Regions from separate parts of the Homo sapiens genome. Here region 1 is linked to region 2. The links are contacts of gene promoters, found by promoter capture Hi-C in blood cells and fetal thymus (Javierre and others, 2016). All regions are on one chromosome and are shown on one strand. Each heading gives the region's core, a stretch centred on a gene start or on the middle of the fragment in contact. The rest is flanking DNA. Distances are from core to core; before and after follow the strand shown.

Region 1 (3,454 bases), core at 794-3,293, 160 kb after region 2:
CTAGCACCTTCCCTAACCTTACTACCATGCCTTTCCCATCACTCTCTCTAGCACTCTCCGAATCAGAGCAGTGCCTCTCTCAGATACAAGAATTAATAGGCTCAATGCCAAAGCCCAACCATGACACTCTACGGTACCTCCTGGAGCATTTATGCAGGTCAGGAAGACAGAACCTCTTTGTTCATGCTGGGGAAAGGTGGAGTGGGGAATGCCACAGGGACTCTGTGCAGGTGGAGTGAAGGTAGGGAAGCACCTAAGTTTAATGGGCAGGTGAGGAAGCAGGCAACCTCTGTGCAGGAGCATATTACCAGAGTCAAAACCTTTATTTTTTTATTTTATTTATTTTTGAGACAGAGTCTCGCTCTGTCACCCAGACTGGAGTGCAGTGGCGCAATTTCAGCTCACTGCAACCTCTGCCTCCCGGGTTCAAGTAATTCTCCTGCCTCAGCCTCCTGAGTAACTGGGATTACAGGTGCCCGCCACCACGCCTGGCTAATTTTTGTATTTTTAGTAGAGACGGGGTTTCACCATGTTGGCCAGGCTGGTCTCGAACTCCTGACCTCAGGTGATTTACCCACCTCAGCCTCCCAAAGTGCTGGGATTACACCGTGCCCGTCAAAGACTTTAGGTCAAAACCTAAAGGTCAGCATCAAGTGGGGAAATGGAACCAAGATGCTGTGAAAGGAATAAGGGAAATCTTACTTCTCCCTTCCCTCTGCCTCTTTGTCTCCCATTGGGACATTGCTGATGGCTTCTTTGGTTGAACTGGGCCTGGGCAGTGACTTCTGAGAGAGGATGGCCACTTGAATTAAAGACTCCCAAACTGTGAGCAGGCAGAACTCTTGGGGCAGCCCCTGAAGTCGGAAGAGGCAGTTATATCTTCAGGTTGTATCCTGAAGGTTTCTCCACTGGTCCATCTCCATTCTCCTTGTATCTCCTTGGTTTTTTTGTTACCATGTGGAGGAATCCCAGAGTGAACTCTTCCCTGCTCAGAACTTTGAAGGGTTAGTTAGATTGCTATGAAGTGGCAAGCTGCTGCCATATATCCCCTTCCTTGGCCTTTGCTTACAGGGTGATAGCACACTCAGATAAGAATCGCATGACACCCCACAACCTGGGAATTGTGTTTGGACCAACCCTGTTTCGGCCAGAGCAGGAGACATCTGACCCAGCAGCCCATGCTCTCTACCCAGGGCAGCTGGTCCAGCTGATGCTCACCAACTTCACCAGCCTCTTCCCCTGATGCAGGGAAGGAAGAAGAGAAAACATATTTCCGGTCATCTCTGGTGGTGAGAGGCTGGTGTTCTGTTTTGAGGATATCCCTTTAAATCTCCCAAATGACTGTCTCTATCTTCATGAGTGTGACTTGAGGTGTTGGGATGGGTGAGGGAGCTTCTCTAAAGAGGAAAGTGAGTGGATTAACCCCTGCTTCTCTTCTTGTTCCCTGTTATCATTCCTCCCCAACATAATAATACATAAAGTGGCATGGTATTTTTTCTGATGCAGTTCCTTTATTATCAGGAAACAGTGTCATTATCAAATTTCTCCTCAAAACGTATACAGACTATACATAGCCCCCAGCCCATACCTCCCATCCCTGGGGCATCTTGTGCATGGGACTGCAGCTCCCCCAATTTTTCTGGAAGGATAGAAACCCCTTAGGAAATGCGATCTGTGATGGATGAGATTCCCTACTCTTTAGGCACTAGAGTTGAGGAATTCTGTTTCCCCAGGTAGGGATCTCAGTAAGACACTCATGTTGCCCACAGCCATGTTGGGGGGCCCAGAGGGAGGTGGGGTATGTCCAGAGCTGCCCCGCTGATCATGGGAAGGAGGAGGACTCAGCCCCTGGGGCTCATCCAGAATAGCCACAAAGTCCAGCTGAGTGTTGTCAAGATCAAGAGAGTCCAGGGGGTTACATACCTGTCCTTCGGGAGGAGGGTACAAGGCAGGACCCCCTCCTAGCCTGCCCACCTCAGGATGACCACAGCTGGGGTTTGTGCCTCCCACTTTGAGAGGCCCATAGCAAGTGGGCAATGGGGGCAGAAGTCGAGGTGGTGCTGCTGCCCTATGTGAAGCCCTATTTGCCCCCACTACAAAATTTTCATGGCATGGTGAAGGGGTGGGATAGGAACCTGACTTGTGATTGGGCAAGTTGGGTCCAAAGCCAGGTCCATATGTGTTCACTGGAGCTTTAGCACGGCTTGGGCTAACCTGGGAACCCCCCAGAAACTTGGGACTCTGGTAGGAAGGTTCCTGGGCGGGGGCATCTTCCCTGCCCCCACCCTCCCACAGTAGCTCCTGTTGAGATTGAACATAATTACACACAAGCTGAGCCTTGAGCTGCCCTGTGGAATGGGTGGGGGAATCAAAGTCCAGGCAAGGCCTGGGTTCTGAAGGAAGATAATCAGGGGGTGGCTGGGTATAGGGGCCTGACTGGAGATATTGGGGAGGAGAGGGCTGGGGGTAATGGGAAAAGAGAGGCTGTGGATGTGGGGGCCCCTCACTGGGGTGGGCATTGAGGCAGGGTGCCAGTCCTGTGGAGTCAGACCCCACTGGGCACCCCTGTTCTGGCTTGACTTGCACTTGTCCATAATGTTCAAGTCGAGGACACTGGCTGTAGGTTCCACCTAGAGCCTTGGGGCCTGGGTACAGCCCAGAGTGGGAAGGGAACTCACCCCATGTTTCTTGGGTGGGGTCAGGATATGAGGCCTGCTGGGGACAGGGGTTGGGGCCATAGTTGGTGGGTGGACCAGGCCCAAGAGGCAGAGAGCCTGGACCCCTCGCTCCATAAGGCTCAGCTGCTGCCCCTTCAGGTCCCCCATATCCCAGAGTATCAGTAGGTGGGAAGTCCATATAGGGGTTCAGACCACTGCCCACCATGGAGGTCCCAACTTCTGGCTCTTCCTGTAGCCCTCTAGCATCCATGGCAGCATTCTCAGTGATGCTGGGGGGCTGTGGTGAGTAGACAGAGGTTGGGAGGTAAGGATCAAAGTTCTGTCCTCCCCCTGCCACAGTGGGTGGGGTATGGACACAGCCCAGGCTCTTGAACCTCTGGACTCTAGCTGGAGCAGGACGGTCAGCAGCCTGGGCTGGGTCACTGGCCCTCCGGGTGACCCCTGCATTGGGGTTGTATCCTGGATACTCGGCTCGGCTTCTCCAAGGAGGCATGGGAAGACCACCTATCCGATCCAGGCTGGATGCTGCAGTGGGCGAAGTACCACCCCCTCTGGCTGAAGCATATCTTGCCCGAAGCAGGTAGTGCTGGGCAGGCATAAGGCCAGGCAGGGAGGATGCTCCATTCTCTGGTGGGGAGCCAGGGGGGAAAGGAGAGGCCAGGGAGGAGCGGCGGCTGACAGTATAGGCAGAGCTGATGCTGCTGGAGCTGCTGCTGCGGCGTTCAAGAGAGACTGGGGGGCCCACGCGGCGGGACACAGTGGTACCTGCAAGTGAT
Region 2 (3,180 bases), core at 590-3,089:
TGATGTTAATTTTGGCCAGCAAGTCAAGGTGCTGTCTGCTTTTCCCACTGCGCGGTTACAATTTTTCCTCTTGCAACGAATAAGCCAACTATGGGGAGATACTTTAAGCTACGTACATAAGCTGCTTCTGTCAAACTTTCCCCCTAGAATTAGCATTCATTGATAATTCTTGCCCAAACCAACTTTTACTCTGATGGTTGCAAAATAGTTATTTTCATGGGGGGAGGGGGGAGGAATAGCTTTAGGAGATATACCTAATGCTAAATGACGAGTTAATGGGTGCAGCACACCAGCATGGCACATGTATTCATATGTAACTAACCTGCACATTGTGCCCATGTACCCTAAAACTTAAAGTATAATAATAATAAAATAAAATTTTAAAAAATAGTTATTTTCCAACTCCATCAGCTCCCTCCACATTTATTAATTGGCATTCTCCCTTCTCCTTCATTCATTTAATTAATTAATTAATTAATTATCTATGTATTATCAGTGTGGAGTCATGGATTCCTATGTTTTCAATGGTTCATAATTCATTCCTGGTCATCTCCGCTGGGGGCACCAACCAGATAAAGTATACCTGTCTTATATGTTACAAATATTTTTTCACAGTTTGTCATTTCTCTCTCAAATTTAGTGTATGTTAATTTCTTCACTCAAGTTTTTCATATAGTCAGATTTATTAATATTTCCCTTTACATCTGGCTTAGAGATCTCTTCCCTACTCCAAGATCATAAACAAAACAAAAATTCCATGATTTCTTCTTTTGAGACAGAGTCTCGCTCTGTCACCCAGGCTACAGTGCCATGGCACCATCTCAGCTCACTGCAGCTTCAACTTCCCGAGCTCAAGCAATCTTCCCACTTCAGCCTCCTAAGTAGTTGGACTACAGGTGTGAGCCATCTTGCTGGGCTAATTTTTAAATTTTTTGTAGAGACGGGGGGGGGGGGGGGTCTCACCATGTTGCCCAGGCTGGTCTCGAACTCCTGGTCTCCTATCGCAGCCTCCCAAAGTGCTGAGATTACAAGCATGAGCCACTGCGCCGGGTTTCATGATTTCTTTCACTACTTTTATGATTTCACCTTTAATATTAAAATATTTAATACATTTGGAATTTTGGTGTAAGAAGTGTAGAGATTCCACTTTCACCCCAGCTGATTAGTCATTTGTTTGTATAAAATTCATTCATTCAATAATCCACCACACACACACACACACACATATTTTCGTTATGTTCTATATTTCTTGTTATATCTTTTTTTCCTATTGAATCTTGATGCATCTTTTATTAGAACCACGGAGCCACAGAACTCCGATTCTCGGCAATGTGAGGTATCAGGCTATGACCTAAGGCTTGCAAGCAGAACTACCGCCAATCTGGCCTCTCTGGGGTTCCCTTCCTCCTGCAAGGTTGCACCAAGCGGCAGTTCGGGGAAATAGGGCCTTCAATTACCCAGTGTGTATCTCTTGAGTGTCTGTTAAATAATGGGGGGCAGGGCGGGGAGGAGGGGGAGAGGGAGGCTGTGCCTCAGTCTTTGTTAGCCAGGCAGAGCGTTTATTTTCCAGGGGTTGTTTCCTTTATCTTCATCCTAACATTCAAACTTGACTTGAGTTTTAGCGCGCCCCCGCCCTACCTCCTCCCAAAGCCCTTATTTGCCCATCCTTGCCTACAAGCTCAGAACGAGCAGGCAATGGAATGGATGTCGTGGGAGCAGGCGGTTGAGATGCCAGTGTTTGGAGGCTAAGGACTGGGGGCTGTGAGCGAGGACCTTCCCGCGTTTGCTCCGCGCCCCCGCAGTTTCCTCCGCGCCCACTAGAAGGCGCCGGGGCGCTCGCATTCCCCGCGCGGAGCCGAAGCAGCCGCAACGAGCCGGGAGCTGAGCCGCGCTGCGCTGCGGTGCGAAGAGCCGGGCGGCGGCCAGAGCCCTCCCCGCGCTGCCAGTGGGACGCGGAGCCAGGGATCCCCGGCTTTGCCCCGGGGCTGGGGTGCAACAGACTCTTAACTTGGTCCTCGCGCCCCGCCAACCGCCCCCGGGCAGGAAACGCCCAGAACCACCACCGCGCCGCGCTCCACAAAAGCCCCGGGAGTTCCAAGACGGGAGGGATCGGGCGCGCTCCAGAGGCAGGAGGGTCCCCCACACCCTCAGGCTCATGCCCAGCTCCCCCATCGGGCAGCCCCCAGCCCCATGAGGACCCTCAGGCCGGGGCGAGAGCCCGGCACAGCCCGGACCGAAATTTTGCCGCTGCCTTAGAGCGTTAGACAGGTCAGTGCCCGGGGGTGGGTGGGGGTGGGATTGGTTGGTGAGGGGAGGAGGAGGAGGCGGGAGGAGGCGGGAGGAGGCGCGCTTCCCGGTCCACTCTGTCCCCCGCGCCGCTTGCCGAGGCCACTCATCGGGTCACCTCCGCCGGGGGCGCCCGCCAGCACGGGCATGATTCTGCATTTTTTCCTGACAGGCTAGGTGTGGAGCCGCCCTCCGCAGCCCACCCCGGCCCAGGTGATGCTCAGACTGAGGAGTCGGGGGCGCGCCGGCCAGGGCGGGCGGCGGGCTTGGGGACTGCCACTGCCCTGATAGAGCGGGGCTTTTCCGCTTACGCACGGCCGCGTCGAAACCGCGGCATCCAAATGTCTTCAGCATTAAGATGCCAGGCCTCGGGTGTGTGAGGAAACCGAGATGCAGGAGAGGGCGAGAAGAAAGGAGGCCGGGAGACCCTGGGGCCTGGGAAGTGAGGGGAGGGGTACCGGGAAAACCGCGGCTGGCAGTGCAAACCCTAGCGCGATGTGTGGAGTGGAGAGCGCTCTTGGGAGCCGGCAGGAGCCTCTGAGGACGCGGGGGCCAAGGGCCCCATCCCTTGCCCTCCCTTCTTCCCTCCCTTTCTCACTCCCCACCCTACCCCCACCTAGGATGTGGCTGGGCCGCCGGGCCCTGTGCGCTCTGGTCCTTCTGCTCGCCTGCGCCTCGCTGGGGCTCCTGTACGCGAGCACCCGGGACGCGCCCGGCCTCCGGCTACCTCTTGCGCCGTGGGCGCCCCCGCAAAGCCCCCGCAGGCCCGAGCTGCCAGATCTTGCTCCTGAGCCCCGCTACGCACACATCCCGGTCAGGATCAAGGAGCAAGTAGTGGGGTGAGTGCCGACCGCGGCGGCGCAGCGCAGCGCTCGCTGGGGGTGGTCTGGGGGC

The links. Contacts are between HindIII fragments. The CHiCAGO score rates a contact against its expected background, and 5 or more counts as called.
Region 1: a fragment that was not itself captured here is called in contact with the fragment with the promoter of B4GALNT1 in region 2 in 5 of 17 cell types (total CD4 T cells, naive B cells, total CD8 T cells and 2 more); the score reaches 7.4 in total CD4 T cells.

Annotation. Positions count from the first base shown.
Region 1 is chr12:57,470,306-57,473,759 of GRCh38, reverse strand. GLI1 (GLI family zinc finger 1) reads right to left here. Exons shown (of 12, transcript NM_005269.3): 12 at 1,492-3,443. The coding sequence ends at 1,699. ARHGAP9 (Rho GTPase activating protein 9) reads left to right here. Exons shown (of 18, transcript NM_032496.4): 17 at 52-157; 18 at 1,072-1,491. The coding sequence ends at 1,243. Among named protein-coding and RNA genes, the nearest start is that of ARHGAP9, 7.8 kb to the left of the region's middle. The HindIII fragment of the contact is 4,786 bases long and covers 1-3,454 here.
Region 2 is chr12:57,631,860-57,635,039 of GRCh38, reverse strand. It overlaps B4GALNT1 (beta-1,4-N-acetyl-galactosaminyltransferase 1), which reads left to right and starts at 1,839. Exons shown (of 11, transcript NM_001478.5): 1 at 1,839-2,268; 2 at 2,907-3,125. The coding sequence starts at 2,908. RefSeq lists a silencer at 1,806-2,105 and an enhancer at 1,648-2,609. The HindIII fragment of the contact is 8,071 bases long and covers 1-3,180 here.